Regions from separate parts of the Homo sapiens genome. Here all the other regions are linked to region 1. The links are contacts of gene promoters, found by promoter capture Hi-C in human tissues and cell types (Jung and others, 2019). All regions are on one chromosome and are shown on one strand. Each heading gives the region's core, a stretch centred on a gene start or on the middle of the fragment in contact. The rest is flanking DNA. Distances are from core to core; before and after follow the strand shown.

The links. Contacts are between HindIII fragments. The study calls those that stand out against the background at their distance.
Region 2: a fragment that was not itself captured here is called in contact with the fragment with the promoter of ZNF563 in region 1 in 1 of the 25 tissues and cell types used here (dorsolateral prefrontal cortex).
Region 3: a contact is called between a fragment that was not itself captured here and the fragment with the promoter of ZNF563 in region 1, in 3 of the 25 tissues and cell types used here (aorta, dorsolateral prefrontal cortex and lymphoblastoid cells).
Region 4: a fragment that was not itself captured here is called in contact with the fragment with the promoter of ZNF563 in region 1 in 2 of the 25 tissues and cell types used here (IMR-90 fibroblasts and mesenchymal stem cells).
Region 5: a contact is called between the fragment with the promoter of ZNF440 here and the fragment with the promoter of ZNF563 in region 1, in 1 of the 25 tissues and cell types used here (psoas muscle).

What each region holds. Positions count from the first base shown.
Region 1 is chr19:12,332,263-12,335,154 of GRCh38, forward strand. It overlaps ZNF563 (zinc finger protein 563), which reads right to left and starts at 1,371. Exons shown (of 4, transcript NM_145276.3): 1 at 1,218-1,371. The coding sequence starts at 1,220. RefSeq lists enhancers at 725-834, 1,065-1,324, 1,427-2,292 and a silencer at 1,465-1,604. The HindIII fragment of the contact is 22,494 bases long and covers 1-2,892 here.
Region 2 is chr19:11,583,270-11,586,161 of GRCh38, forward strand. It overlaps LOC124904638 (a long non-coding RNA gene), which reads left to right. Exons shown (of 2, transcript XR_007067140.1): 2 at 148-395. It also overlaps the pseudogene GAPDHP76. Among named protein-coding and RNA genes, the nearest start is that of ACP5, 7.1 kb to the left of the region's middle. RefSeq lists enhancers at 616-755, 766-825. The HindIII fragment of the contact is 7,524 bases long and covers 1-2,892 here.
Region 3 is chr19:11,758,295-11,761,186 of GRCh38, forward strand. No RefSeq gene overlaps it. Among named protein-coding and RNA genes, the nearest start is that of ZNF441, 7.3 kb to the right of the region's middle. The HindIII fragment of the contact is 5,499 bases long and covers 1-2,892 here.
Region 4 is chr19:11,783,778-11,786,669 of GRCh38, forward strand. ZNF441 (zinc finger protein 441) reads left to right here. Exons shown (of 4, transcript NM_152355.3): 4 at 1-301. Among named protein-coding and RNA genes, the nearest start is that of ZNF491, 13 kb to the right of the region's middle. The HindIII fragment of the contact is 7,851 bases long and covers 1-2,892 here.
Region 5 is chr19:11,812,875-11,815,766 of GRCh38, forward strand. It overlaps ZNF440 (zinc finger protein 440), which reads left to right and starts at 1,399. Exons shown (of 4, transcript NM_152357.3): 1 at 1,399-1,576. The coding sequence starts at 1,574. RefSeq lists silencers at 1,234-1,313, 1,734-1,803. The HindIII fragment of the contact is 18,958 bases long and covers 1-2,892 here.

The DNA of each region.
Region 1 (2,892 bases), core at 121-2,620:
ATCTGCCTATCTTCATGTGCAGAGAATTTAAACAAAAGAGAATGCAGGTAAGTTACGGGTCTAACTTTGTTTTTTTTCTTTTTTCTTTTTTTTTTTTTTTTTGAGACGGAGTCTCTCTCTGTCGCCGGCCCAGACTGGAGTGCAGTGACGTGATCTCAGTTCACTGCAACCTCCGCCTCATGGGTTCAAGCGATTCTCCTGCCTCAGCCTCTCGAGTAGCTGAGATTACAGGCATGTGACACCACGTCTGGCTAATTTTTGTATTTTTAGTAGAGAAGGGGTTTCGCCATCTTGGCCAGGCTGGTCTGGAACTCCTGTACATGTCTAACTTTCTTTATGGCCCAAGACATGGCCTTCTTGCCCAGATAACGCACTTAATTCACAGACTTCCTGCTCACCATCAAACGCCTCAATTTATCAAACACCGGGGCTGACAGAGGAATGCAAGTTAAGCTCCCTGCTGCCTTGGCACTCTGCTGCCTTGGCACTATCAATCAGCCCAAGTTCCATTCTATAAAATCACCCACAAGCCTCTGCTTCTCTCCTGCAGGCTTCCCATGGCCTCCCTTGCGATGGATTTTGCTTCTTTCGCTAATAACTTTACCTACAACTGTCTTAGTAAAAATTATTTTACCCCGGCGTTACCGGCCCAGATAGCAGTCGTTCCCCTGTGACGGAGAGGAAGTCAGCTTTATGAAATGCAGGGCAAAATCTGGAAATCTAGGGATTTACTGCCAGCCCCAGGAGTTAGGGTGAGGGGACAAGATAAGCATTAGACATCTGCCTTCCCAAACCTTTGAAGACTCAGAGGGACACCGGTCCCCTTTAGGAAGAAAACAGAGACTGAGGATCCCACAGATCACAGCTCCTCACAGGCACGAACCCCACACACGAGTGGGGATTCCCTCCATGACCCTTCCGTGACCCTCCCCCAATCCTGGGGAGATGGGGGGCTGCGGGCGAGGAGCTGCCCAGACAGGGCTCCGAGGCCGGGACCGCAGTTGCCGCGCAGGGACCGGATAGGACGCCCGGGGTCCCGGCTGCCAGCTCAGCCTCACTCTGTGGCTGAGGGGACCGAGGGTCGAGCTGCGCCAGGGGGACTCGGGTCCCAGACCCCGGAGCTGACGGCGGGGGAGGCCCACGTTCGCCGCGGCCGGTTCTGGACGGTTCCAACCAGCTCTTTCCCACTTTTGGGACGCCTGACCCTGCACACGCACCATTTCCCGGCTTCCGGGATGTTCCAGGGTCCTCCCTCTGCCTCCCGCTGCCAGTGCGGGTCCCACTGTGACAGAGGCTGCCACAGACGTTCCAGGGCGTCTCTCAGCGACTGAGGCTACACAGACGTTCCAGGGCGTCTCTCAGCGAGCGACTGAGTCTAGAGCTGAGCGCAGGGGCGTGAAGACGCCGCGGGCTCTTTGAACCTGGCACCCTACTGCCAGCCGTGCGCCTGATTGACAGTTCTCACGACCCCGCCCCATAGCTCTGATTGGATAGGGCTCCAGGTCCCGCCCCCTGGGCACTGAGTGACAGAAGAAGCGATCACACAGTGCTGAGTCGAGCGGGATGAACGAGTTCCAGGCACAGCCCTTGACAGGGCAGGCTTCCTCCCTGTGCTGTCCTGATCCCTCCCAGGGAACATTTGCATTTATGCAGAATTACCTGCCCGTACTCAGCAGGCCCTTACTGCCTTTTCCTCCTGGAGAAGGAGTCACAAGTGTTTTGCAGGGAATCCCAGACTCACAGTCCAGTGGAGCCATTCCCCTGGCCTCAGAGCAGAGGGGAGCCCAAGGCCACACAGGCCACACTGCAGCAGGAGGGTGGCCTGATGTCCACCGGGCATCAGGATTTGAGGATGAGACTCTTGGCGGCAAGGTTAAGCCTTCCTCTCTCACCTTGCCTCTCAATCTGCTCATTTTCAGCCAAGGAAATAAAAACAAGTCAAGAACGGTATTAAAATATCAAATGTGTGGAAGAACTGAAATCACACGGCAGCAATAAATGAATGAATGAATCAAAACAAAAATACAACAGGAAAAAAAAAGCAAAAACTTGAACTAGTGCAGATAAGCAGCCTGCTGCCCTCATACTTCAGCAAACGTCCCATTCAGGAGGCTAAACATATGCCCAAACTTGGCAGCCACTCTTAACTGTTGAAATGGAACCCCAGAGTGAACCAAAACCTGGTGATGAGACTGGGACACTGAAGGATTTGACTCTGGGAGCTCAACATACTTCCCTGTGCCCTCTGCAGAGTGTGGAAATGCCCCCACCGTCAAGATGTGCATTTTCACCAACAGGAAAGTTTCATGTAAAGTTAGTTTAAGGGCCCGGGGCGGTGGCTCACGCCTGCAATCCCAGCACTTTGGGAGGCCGAGGCGGGTGAATCACCTGAGGTCACCAGTTGGAGACCAGCCTGGCCAACATGGTGAAACCACATCTCTACTAAAAATACAAAAATTAGCTGGGCATGGTGGCGGGCACCTGTAATCCCAGCTACTCGGGAGGCTGAGGCAGGAGAATCACTTGAACCTGGGAGGCGGAGGTTGCAGTGAGCCGAGATCGTGCCACGGCATTCCAGCCTGGGTGACAGAGTGAGACCTGGTCTCAAAAAAAAAAAAAAAAAAAAAAAAAAGGTTACTTTAAGGTACTGACCTACATAAACTGTCAAATTCATAAACCCTTTACCCAGATTTTCCTAACACATAAATGGTAAATTCTGATTCTATGTGCAGCTTCGTGCTACGTGGAGGCGTGCGCAGGCTGCTGAGGAAGCACCAAAGGGGGCTCCATTTCTCTCCCTTTGCAGCCTTCAGAATGGGCTCGGTGTAGAGTCACTGGTTCAAACTCTGCTGCCCACTCCAGGTGGCTGGGGCTCAGAAAACAATACCCCAA
Region 2 (2,892 bases), core at 387-2,886, 750 kb before region 1:
ATTATTATAGTAGTAAAAGAGTATAGAATAAAATGCATCACACTTATAAAATGTAAAATGTTAATTTCAATCCACTAAACTTATAAACGGACCCAAATATGCATCCAATGACCTCTTAAAGTGATATTTCTTTTTCTTTTTGTTGAGATGGAGTCTCACTCACTCTGTCACCCAAGCTGGAGCGCAGTGGTGTGATCTTCAGCTCGTCCCAACCTCCGTCTCCCAGGTTCAAGCGATTCTCCTGACCTCAAGTGATCCGTCTGCCTTGGCATCCCAAAGTGCTGGGATTACAGGCCTGAGGCCAGGCCCTGAATTAATTTTTTGATGTTTCACTTTGCCAGGTGTATAAGTAACATGTTAGTTGTGATTGTAACTAAATAAAGGCTTAAGGGAAACCGTGTTTCTAAATTTCTAAATTGACTACACATTTACAAAGGAACCCACAAAGATGGATTTTTGGGCCGGGCGCAGTGGCTCACGCCTGTAATCCCAGCACTTTGGGAGGCTGAGGCAGACAGATTGCCTGAGTTCAGGAGTTCAAGATCAGCCTAGGCAACAAGGTGAAACCCTTTCTCTACTAAAATACAAAAAAATTAGCTGGGCATGGCAGCGAGCACCTGTAATCCCAGCTACTTGGGAGGCTGAGGCCGGAGAATTGCTTGAACCAGGGAGGCAGAGGTTGCAGTGAGTCGAGATCACACCACCGCACTCCAGCCTGGGCAACACAGTGAGACTCGATCTTAAAAAAAAAAAAAAAAGATGGACTTTTTCGGGGCCCCAAGGCTTCAAAATTCAAAATGCTGTCATGAGTTAGTTTGATTTGAGGAACCAAAAATTGGCTTTTGTGGCTGGAGCAGAGTGAGCAAGGGGGAAGTGAATCCGGAAGGTTGAGTCTGCAAGGTCAAGGGCAAGGAACAGAGAAGGGTGTGGGTGGGGCAGGTTGCGTGTGCTCTTGGGGGCTGCAGGGAAGGGGGCTTTTATCTGGGTAAGGTGGGAGCCACAGAGGGTTCTGATCAGAGGGACAGATCTGACTTAGATTTTGCATGATGTCCCCCAGCTGTGGGCTGCGGGGCATGGGCTGCTGAATAGGTGGTTTAGGTGGGCAAAGATGGGTCATGGTGCCCCCTACCCTTTAAAAATTAAAAGACAGGGCCAGGAGCAGTGGCTCACGCCTGTAATCCCAGCACTTTGGGAGGCTGAGGTGGGCGGATCACCTGAGGTCAGGTGTTTGAGACCAGCCTGACCAACAAGGTGAAACCCCATCTCTACTAAAAATACAAAAAAAATTAGCTGGGCGTGGTGGCAGCCACCTGTAATCCCAGCTACTCGGGAGGCTGAGGCAGGAGAATCGCTTGAACCCGGGAAGCAGAGGTTGCAGTGAGCCAAGATCGTGCCACTGCACTCCAGCCTGGGCGACAAGAGCAAGACTGTCTCAAATAATAATAATAGGCCGGGTGTGGTGGCTCACACCTGTAATCCCAGCACTTTGGGAGGTTGAGGTGGGTGGATCACTGGAGCCCAGGAGTTTGAGACAAGCCTGGGTGACACAGTGAGACCCCATCTAAATTATTATTATTATTATTATTTGAGACAGAGTCTTGCTCCATCACCCAGGCTGGAGTGCAGTGGCGCGATCTTGGCTCACTGCAAGCTCCGCCTCCCGGGTTCACGCCATTCTCCTGCCTCAGCCTCCCAAGTAGCTGGGACTACAGGTGCCCGCCACCACGCCCAGCTAATTTTTTGTATTTTTTAGTAGAGACGGGGTTTCACCATGTTAGTAAGGATGGTCTGGATCTCCTGACCTTGTGATCCGCCTGCCTTGGCCTCCCAAGGTGCTGGGATTACAGGCGTGAGCCACCATGCCCAGCCTGAATTTTTTTTCTTAAAGATTAAAAAGGCAGAGCCTCTCTGCTCCTCCCATTTGACAGACAGCCACATCTTTTCATGCAGTGAAAAAGGCATGTCCCCGAGACACCGTGGTGAAAGTGAAGACAGGAGTAAATGGATTTGGCCATATTGGGTGCCTGGTCACCAGGGCACCAGAGCTGCTTTTAACTCTGGCAGAATGGATGTTGTCACCTCAATGACCCCTTCATTGACCTCAACTACATGGTCTACATGTTCCAATATGATTCTACCCACGGCAAGTTCCGCGGCACCATCAAAGCTGAGAAGTGGGCTGGGTGTGGTGGCTCATGCTTGTAATCTCAGCTACTTAGGAGGTTGAGGTGGGAGGATCACTTGAGACCAGGAGTTCAGGACCAGCCTAGGCAACATAGGGAGATCCTCTCTCTCTTAAAAAAAAAAAAAAAGAAAAGAAAAGACTGAGAAAGAGAAGGGAAGCTTGTCATCAATAGGAAATGGGAATCTCATCCCCATCTTCTAGAAGCCAGATCCCAGCAAAATCAAATTGGGTGACGATGCTGGCACTGGTTATGTCATGGAGTCCACCAGCAGCATCTTCACGACCATGGGGAAGGCTGGGGCTCGCTTAGGATGGGCAGCCAAAGGGATCACCATCTCTGCCCCCTCTGCCCATGCCCCCATGTTTGTGATGGACATGAACCATGAGAGATACAAAAACCTCATGATCGTCAGCAATGCCTCCTGCACCACCAACTGCTTACCCTCCGGCCAAGGTCATCCGTGACAACGTTTTTTTTTGGTTTGGTTTGGTTTTCTTTCTTTCTTTTTTCTTTTTTTGTTTTAAATAGGGATGGAGGCCAGGTGCAGTGACTCATGCCTGTAATCCCAACACTTTGGGAAGCTGCGGTTGGAGGATCACTTGAGCCTAGGAGTTCAAGACCAGCCTGGCCAACATAGCAAGACTCTGTCTCTACAAAAAGTTTAAAAAAATTATCCAGGCATGGTGGGGTGTATCTGTAGTCCCAG
Region 3 (2,892 bases), core at 247-2,746, 570 kb before region 1:
AATTATTTTGCAGACACACTTAACAGCTATGTCCCATTTAAGTATGTTTTTGAAGAAAATTTTCTAAGAGTGAATAAATTTAAGCCAGGATTATTCTTTTTTATTTATTTATTTATTTATTTATTTTGCTTGTTTTAAAATTTTCCTGTCTTTTTTTTTAGACGGAGTCTTGCACTTTCGCCTGAGCTGGAGTGCAATGGCATGATCTCGACTGACTGCAACGTCCTCCTCCCGGGTACATGCGATTCTCCTGCCTCAGCCTCCTAAGTAGCTGGGACTACAGGTTCACACCACCACGCCTGGCTAATTTTTTGTATCTTTAGTAGAGACAGGGTTTCACTATGTTGGCCAGACTGGTCTCGAATTCCCGACCTCCTGAACTGCGCCCCACCCCCCCACCCTTTCAAAGTGCTGGAATTATAGGTGTGAAAAATTTCCTGTCACTTTAAGAATTATTCCAAAGACATATCTTTCTCTTCCTAGGGCAAATTACCTTAGATTTCTTCTGGGAATTTTGTACTAATCTTTAATGTTTTGGTCTTCCCATTTCATTCCTAAAATGTAGACCCAGAAGAATCACTATATATTATTATAAAATTACATTGAGGCCGGGGGCGGTGGTTCACGCATGTAATCCTAGCACTTTGGGAGGCCGAGGTGGGTGGATCGTCTGAGCTCAGGAGTTCGAGACAAGCTTGGGCAACACAGTGAAACCCCGTCTCTACTAAAAAATACAAAAAAATATTAGCCGGGCATGGCGGCGTGCGCCTGTAGTCCCAGCTACTCGGGAGGCTGAGGCAGGAGAATCAGTTGAACCCAGGAGGCAGAAGCTGCAGTGAGCCAAGATCGTGCCACTACACTCCAGCCTGGGTGACAGAGCAAGACTCCATCTCAAAAAAAAAATAATAATAAATAAAAATAAAATTATATTAAAAATGTAAGATTTTATGTAGACTGCAGTTATGGATGATTTATTCACCAAACCACAGTTGACTCTTCAACAACACAGGTTTGAACTGCATAGATCTCCTTACATACAAATTTTCTTCAGTTTCTGCTACTACTGAGACAGCAAGACCAACCCCTCCTCTTATTCAGCCTACTCAATGTGAAGACAATAAGGATGATAACATTTATGATGCTCCACTTCTACTTAATGAAATAGTAAATATAGTTTTTTCTCCTTGTGATTTTCTGATTAACATTTTTCTCTGCCTTAGTTTATTGTGAGAAAACAATATGTAATGCATATGACATATAAAATATGTGTTAATTGAATGTATATCTTACCAGTAAGGTTTCTGGTCAACAGTAGGCTATTAGTAGTCAAGTTGCGGGGGAGAAAAAAGTTATTTGAAGATTTGTGACTGCATTGAGGGCTGGTGCCCCTAATCCCTGCATTGTTCAAGGGTCAAACGTATTTCTTTTATATTCTAAATCTTTGAACAGCATTGGTGACGAAGAAACAAATATTCGTAATTGACTAAGTAAAGACATGATGTCCCCCTTACCTATACAGTCTAGGTTCCTGATGGTTTCCCGTAGCACATCTCTGTAGAGACTCTTCTATGATGGACCCAGCAAAGCCCACTCCTCCCAGGCAAAAGATCAAAGCCACATCCTCAAAGGCCACTGAGTCCTGAAACACCCGACACGTGCAGAGGAGGAAAGCTGAAACTGACAGCACTGGGAATCTGTACTCACTACATAAATGTCACATGATGCTGTGGTGTCCAAACATTTATGCAACGACACGGTAATCCAACTCTTACCCTCTTTCTAAACTCATTTTCTCCCAGAATGCAATTCTAATGCTAGAATTAAACGTGTTTGGTAAAATAACAGTCGAATTATAAAATGCCACTCCTTGGTGAGTTAAAGGAGTGACATTTATTGCCTAGATCACCCCTAATATCTATGTGTACAGGATGTTTGTAATTCCTGATGTGACAAAGTCCTCCTACCTAATGGGCAGAAGAGTTAACATCAGCTGTCCTGAGACCGCATATTGTTACAAATGCTTGCTCACAAAGTTGAACCTTTCACTATATCTAGGAACTAAATTTAGTTAGGGGGCTTCACCAACATAAGCGATAATGGAGGATGAGTGTCCCTAAACTATGTAAAAAATATGGTATCTGCTGAACTCCTATGTTCCCTCTGAGAGTTCAAACTTTTGTGATATGCTTGGCAGAGGGAGCATACCTGATCATTCACTACTAGGTTTTTTGCTTGTTTTTGTTTTTGTTTTTGTTTTTTTTGAGACAGAGTCTTGCTCTGTCTCCAGGCTGGAGTGCAGTGGCGCAATCTCGGCTCACTGCAACCTCCGCCTCCTGGGTTCAAGCGATTCTCCTGCCTCAGCCTCCCGAGTGGCTGGGATTACAGGCGCACACCACCATGCCCAGCTAATTTTTGTATTTTTAGTAGAGACAGGGTTTCACCATGTTGGCTAGGATGGTCTCGATCTCTTGACCTCGTGATCCACCCACCTCAGCCTCCCAAAGTGCTGGGATTACAGGAGTGAGCCACCGCGCCCGGCCATTCACTGCTAGGTTTGAATGTTTGTCCCCTCCAAAATGCTTGTTGAAACATAATCGCCAATGTGGCACTAATGAAAGGTGAGGCCTTTAAGAGGTGAGTAGATCTTAAGGGTTCAGACCTCATAAATAAATTAATCCATTCATGAATTCATGGCTTACTGAATTAATGAGTTATCTCAGGAGTGGGACTGATGGCCATATTAAAAAAGAAGGGAACCTGAGCTACCACATTCAGCCCATTCTCCATGTGATACCTTCAACCACCTAGAAACTCTGCACAGCCCCCATGACCAAGAAGGCTTTCACCACATGAAGCCCTCTTACTTGCTAGGTTCCAGAACTATAATAAATA
Region 4 (2,892 bases), core at 222-2,721, 550 kb before region 1:
AGAAATTGGTGAATATGTACAAATTTCCATTTAGATCAAAGGAATAAGTTCTGATGTTAGAAAGCATACTAGAGTGAACTATAGTTAGCAAAAATATATTGCATATTTCAAAGTAGTTGGAAGAGAGGACTTGAAATGTTACCAACACATAGAAGTGGTAAATACTCAAGATCATGGATACCCCAAATACGCTGACTTGACCATTACACATTCTATGCATGCAAGAAATGCTCATGTGTACCTTATATATATGTAAAATATGTATCAATAAAAGAAAATATATAAGATAGTTTTAAAATAACACTATTGTCAGGTGTCTGTGGGCTGAGGAACAGCCTAAGGTGTAAACTTAAGTTCTTCTCAGGTCTTTTCTTAGTTGCACCTGTCCCTGGGCATGTGTGGTAACTGTCTAATTTTCTCTGCATGTATGGTTATTTTTGCACAACCTAATCTTCAGTGGCTCTCAAAAGGAGAGGAATAAAAGCATTAAGGGAAAAATAAAAGGCACCAGCCTGGAAGTCACTTCAGATGGAGGGGAAGGGCCTTCAAAAAATGGAGAGAGATGCAGCAGCAACAGTCACCACCACTTCTTTGTCTGTAACTCTGTGATCAGAAGCAACAATTATCAAGCAGTGCGCAGATCCCCAATATTTGGAAGACAGGTCCTTTTTGTCCACCCTGGCCCCCCAAAACTGCATGCAGACTGCTGTTAGAACTTATGCATAGCTACCTGTCATGGAGCTGAGGAGGGGGAATGAGTCAGGGCTGCTGACTCAACTAAGAGTTGAAATTGACCGAAATTAACCCAATTTTATTAGCCAATTATTTCCCTGGAAGCTGCAAGCTTTTAATAGTATCCGCAGTTTCAAAATAGCTACATGAGTTGGATTCTGCCAATGCAAATCCAGGTGGGGGATACAGATTCTTCATGCTTTTTATTCTGCCATCTTCCTTGAATCCTCTGACCTGACTTTTTATACTAATACATTACTTCAGGTCCCATCCCACATGTCACCTCCTCAGCAAGTCTTTCTGTCACCTCAGTTACTCCTTTCCATATATACATTTTTTTTAATACACTTTTCAGAGTCAGGGAAATCCGATTAGGTTCACAGACTTTACTGCTTTCTTAACAACCTATGAAAAGTCAAATCATATAAATGAACCAAACTGAATAGTGTCACTGTTACTTTTATGAAGTGTTATCCCGTAGATTTAAAAAAAAAGAAAGAAAGCCGGGCGCGGTGGCTCACGCCTGTAATCCCAGCACTTTGGGAGGACGAGGAGGGTGGATCACCTGAGGTCAGAAGTTCAAGACCAGCCTGGTCAACATGGTGAAATCCCGTCTCTACTAAATATACAAAAATTAGCCGGGCGTGGTGGCAGGCGCCTGTAATCCCAGCTACTCGGGAGGCTGAGGCAGGAGAATCGCTTGAACCCGGGAGGCAGCGGTTGCAGTGAGCCGAGATCGCACCATTGCGCTCCAGCCTGGGCAACAAGAGCGAAACTTCGTCTCAAAAGAAAAAAAAAACTGCTTTGCACCGATTTGCAGAAAAAGAGACAACGAACTCCCTCTCGTGGTGAGGATGGCATTAACATCCACACATAACTCCTTTAGGGTGTGGATTTCTGAATTGTGCTGAGATCTCCAGAATTTACAGCAAGTGATGGTCAGTTTAAAATATTCTGTGCCTTCAATGAAGAAGTAGTGTAGCAGGTTAGGGAGAAGAGAAGCAAATAAAATGGATGAGGTCCTCACTTAGTATATCACAATCTCTCCTGGAAGACTATTTATTTATTTATTTTTTTGAGACGGAGTCTCGCTTTGTCACCCAGGCTGGAGTGCAGTGGCGTGATCTCGGGTCACTGCAAGCTCCGCCTCCCGGGTTCACACCATTCTCCTGCCTCAGCCTCCCGAGTAGCTGGGACTACAGGCGCCCGCCACCACGCCCAGCTAATTTTTTGTATTTTTAGTAGAGACGGGGTTTCACCGTGTTAGCCAGGATGGTCTCGATCTCCTGACCTCGTGATCCACCCGCCTCGGCCTCCCAAAGTGCTTGGATTACAGGCATGAGCCACCGCGCCCGGCTCTGGAAGACAATTTCAAATGAATAAATCAAGGAACATGAGAGAGCCACAAGGGAGTTCAACCTGAGTCCAGTTAGACTCCTTGAAAGGGAAAGCTATTTACAGAATACTTCGGATTTAGCTGCGGAAATGATTTGATGGGTCAGTGGTGGTGGAGTGAGGTTGAGACCATTTAAAATAGGTGACGTAAACATGTGAAACCTCAGACACAGAGCCCTTGGTGTTAACCATGATCTGTTGAAAGTCAGAAGAATGAAGCAGAGGGAATTGTTGGAAGCTCACATTTGATTAGCTTTTTTACATATAACATGTGTTGACAAGGCCGGGAGCGGTGGCTCACGCCTGTAATCCCAGCACTTTGGGAGGACGAGGAGGGTGGATCACCTGAGGTCAGGAGATCGAGACCATCCTGGCTAACACGGCGAGACCTCGTCTCTACTAAAAATACAAAAAATTAGCTGGGCGTGTTGGCGGGCGCCTGTAGTCCCAGCTACTCGGGAGGCTGAGGCAGGAGAATGGTATGAACCCAGGAGGTGGAGCCTGCAGTGAGCCGAGATGGCGCCACTGCACTCCAGCCTGGACAACAGTGCGAGACTCCATCTCGACAACAACAACAACAAAAAACAATGTGTTGACGTAGAAATTATTTATTGATGTATTTTTCTCAAACTAATAATTATTTTGAAGGGTTTTTTTTCCACCATGTAAACATAACCAACTCCCAGGAGCTTCCATGTGTATATGCTTAAATGTATAATATGTGTAAAAGTTCTATCAGACTTAAATCATCCATTTATCACACTT
Region 5 (2,892 bases), core at 149-2,648, 520 kb before region 1:
AGAGGCCAGGCGCACACCTGTAATCCCAACACTTTGGGAGGCTGAGGCTGGAGGATCACTTAAGCTCAGGAGTTTGAGATCAACCTGAACAACCGAATGAGACCTCATCTCTACCAAAAATAAAAAACTAGCCAGGCATGGTGGCAGGCACTTGTAGTCCCACCTACTTAGGAGGCTGAGGTGGGAGGATTGCTTGAGTCTGGGAGGTTGAGGCTGCATTGAGTAGCCATCGCACCACTGCACTCCAGCTTGGGCGACAGAGTGAGACCCCGTCTCAAAAAAAGATGGCTAAAACATAATTTTTTTTTTTTTGAGATGGAGTCTCACTGTGTCTCAGGCTGGAATGCAGTGGCACGATCTTGGCTCACTGCAAACTCTGCCTCCCGGTTCAAGCAATTCTCCTGCCTCAGCCTTTCAAGTAGCTGGGATTACAGGCATGCGCCACCATTCCTGGCTAATTTTTGTATTTTTAGTAGAGATAGGATTTCACCATGTTGGCCAGGCTGGTCTTGAACTCCTGACCTCGTGATCCACCTGCCTCAGCCTCTCAAAGTGCTGGGATTACAGGCATGAGCCACCGCGCCCGGCCTGCCTAAATCATAATTTCTATGACAGAATTTCTCATTTACAGCTTCCCCTGAGACCATCTTTCATTTCAGTTAACCCTGCTCCTTGGGGGTTATATGTGAGATAAAAGTGCCATGCTATATCATGTTCCCTGGCTCAGTCCTACACAGCATGTCCTGAAAAATGGGTCTTCAGTCACTGTCAATGCACCAGGGATAGATATACATAGTACTGAGAGCCTCTAAATCTTTAATAAGTTCTGGCTTGGTTAGCTCCCTTACAAGGAAAACCTTGCTGGAGTCCATAGCAGTGTGAGGAAGCCTTGGCCATGCCTCATCCCATTTCCCGCACGCTGGAAGACATCTGCCTCTCTCTCCTGGTGCAGTCGTGCCTTGCCTGGTCTGGGCTCCCCTCCTGCTCTGAGGCAAGCGTATCTCTCCATTGAACACTGAGTCTGAAATGCCCTGCACACACTTGTGATCCCGTGCAGAAGGAAGGAGCAGGGACAGCCCCTTGAATGAGGAAGCTAACAGTGCCTCTTCTAACAATAAGGAGCAAGTCGCCTTGAAATGCAAATATCTGATGACCAGGGCTCAAGGAAGGCGCTCGCTTAGAGAGGCTGTTCGCTTAGAGAGGCTGCTCGCTTAGAGAGGCTGCTCGCTCAGAGACGCTGTGGCCAGAACAAGTCAGACATGATCTGCAGGACCCGGTTACCCAGGGCTTCTGCTGTCACTCAGCACGGAGGAGGCGGGGCCTGGCGCCCCATCCAATCAGGGGTGCTGGGGCGGGGCCCTGTCAACTGTCCATCCGGGGAAGGGGGAAGGGACAGTCGCCCTCCGTCCATTCCTTTAGTGCTGCGCCGACAGCGGTCAGGATCTCGGCTTTCTTGCTTCGAGAGGGACTAGGTGCCTCCACCAGAGCTTCTGTCGCTCTGTAACCTGCACTGTGACCTACACTAGTCGCGGGAGCCACGCAGAGGACGCCGGAACACCCTGGAAGCCGAGAAATGGTGTGTGTGAGGGGGCTGGCGTCCGGGCGACTGGGAGAGGGGCTGGAATCGGCCGGAACCGGCTGAGGCGGGACCCGGGCCTCCACGCGGCGACTCCGGGGTCGTGGACGCGAGTCCCCTCGGTCGCAGGGTGGGGCTGGGCCGGCAGCCGGGACCCCGGGCCTCCTGTCCCGTCCCTTCACGGCGACTGCGGCCCCGGCTCCGGAGCCTAATCTGGGCAGCTCCGCGTCTCCCCACATTATGCGGGGGCCACGGGAGGGATATGGGGGGATCCCGCCTCGGATATGGGGTTTGTTAGAAACAAGTGCCCGGTGCCGCAAAGAAAACCAGCATCTAGGCAGAAAATTCCTCAGCAAAGCAAATTTATTTCTACACAAGGGTGCAGCTTGCGCCAGTCACAAGAGCACAGCGAGCGGGGTAGGGCAGGGGTTTTTCTCCTTAACGCAGTTTCTAGCACTTCTGTGTCCTTTCCTCATTGGCTAGGGTTGGACCTCACAATCTAAACTAACTCGATAGGCTAAGGTTTAAAATTAAATAGGGTCTGGCCAGGCGCGGTGGGTCACGCCTGTAACCCCAGCACTTTGGGAGGCCGAGGCAGGCGGATCGCGAGGTCAGGAGATCGAGACCATCCCTGGCTAACACGGTGAAACCCCGTCTCCACTAAAAATACAAAAAAATTAACTGGGTATGGTGGCGGGCGCCTGTAGTTCCAGCTACTCGGGAGGCTGAGGCAGGAGAATGGCGTGAACCCGGGAGGTGGAGCTTGCAGTGAGCCGAGATCGCACCACTGTACTCCAGCCTGGGCAACAGAGCGAGACAACTGGGCAACTCCGTCACACACACACACACACACACACACACACACACACACACACAAATTAAATAGGGTCTATGAGACGGGAAGGAACAGGGACTGTCCGTTACTAGGCGGGAAGGCGTATCTGGACTTGTCTGGGCGCGGCAAAAGCGGGAAGGTTGTTTACAGAACAGGTAGCTAGGAGACAAGGAAGTCGGTCTCAAGAAACAAAGAACAGCTTACTAAAGCTTTTAGAAAAGTAATTTATCATCTCTGACAGGTTCGTGTGGGAGGAGTAGCGGTCTTTGGGGTCCCCAGTGCCCACTTTTTTCTGTTAAAAATTAAACTGAGGTACGTTAACAATTAAAGAGTTTAGGGCCGGGCGCGGTGGCTCACGCCTGTAATCCCAGCACTTTGGGAGGCCGAGGCGGGCGGATCAGGAAGTCAGGAGTTCAAGACCAGCCTGGCCAACATGGTGAAACCCCATCTCTACTAAAAATACAAAAATTAGCTGGGCATG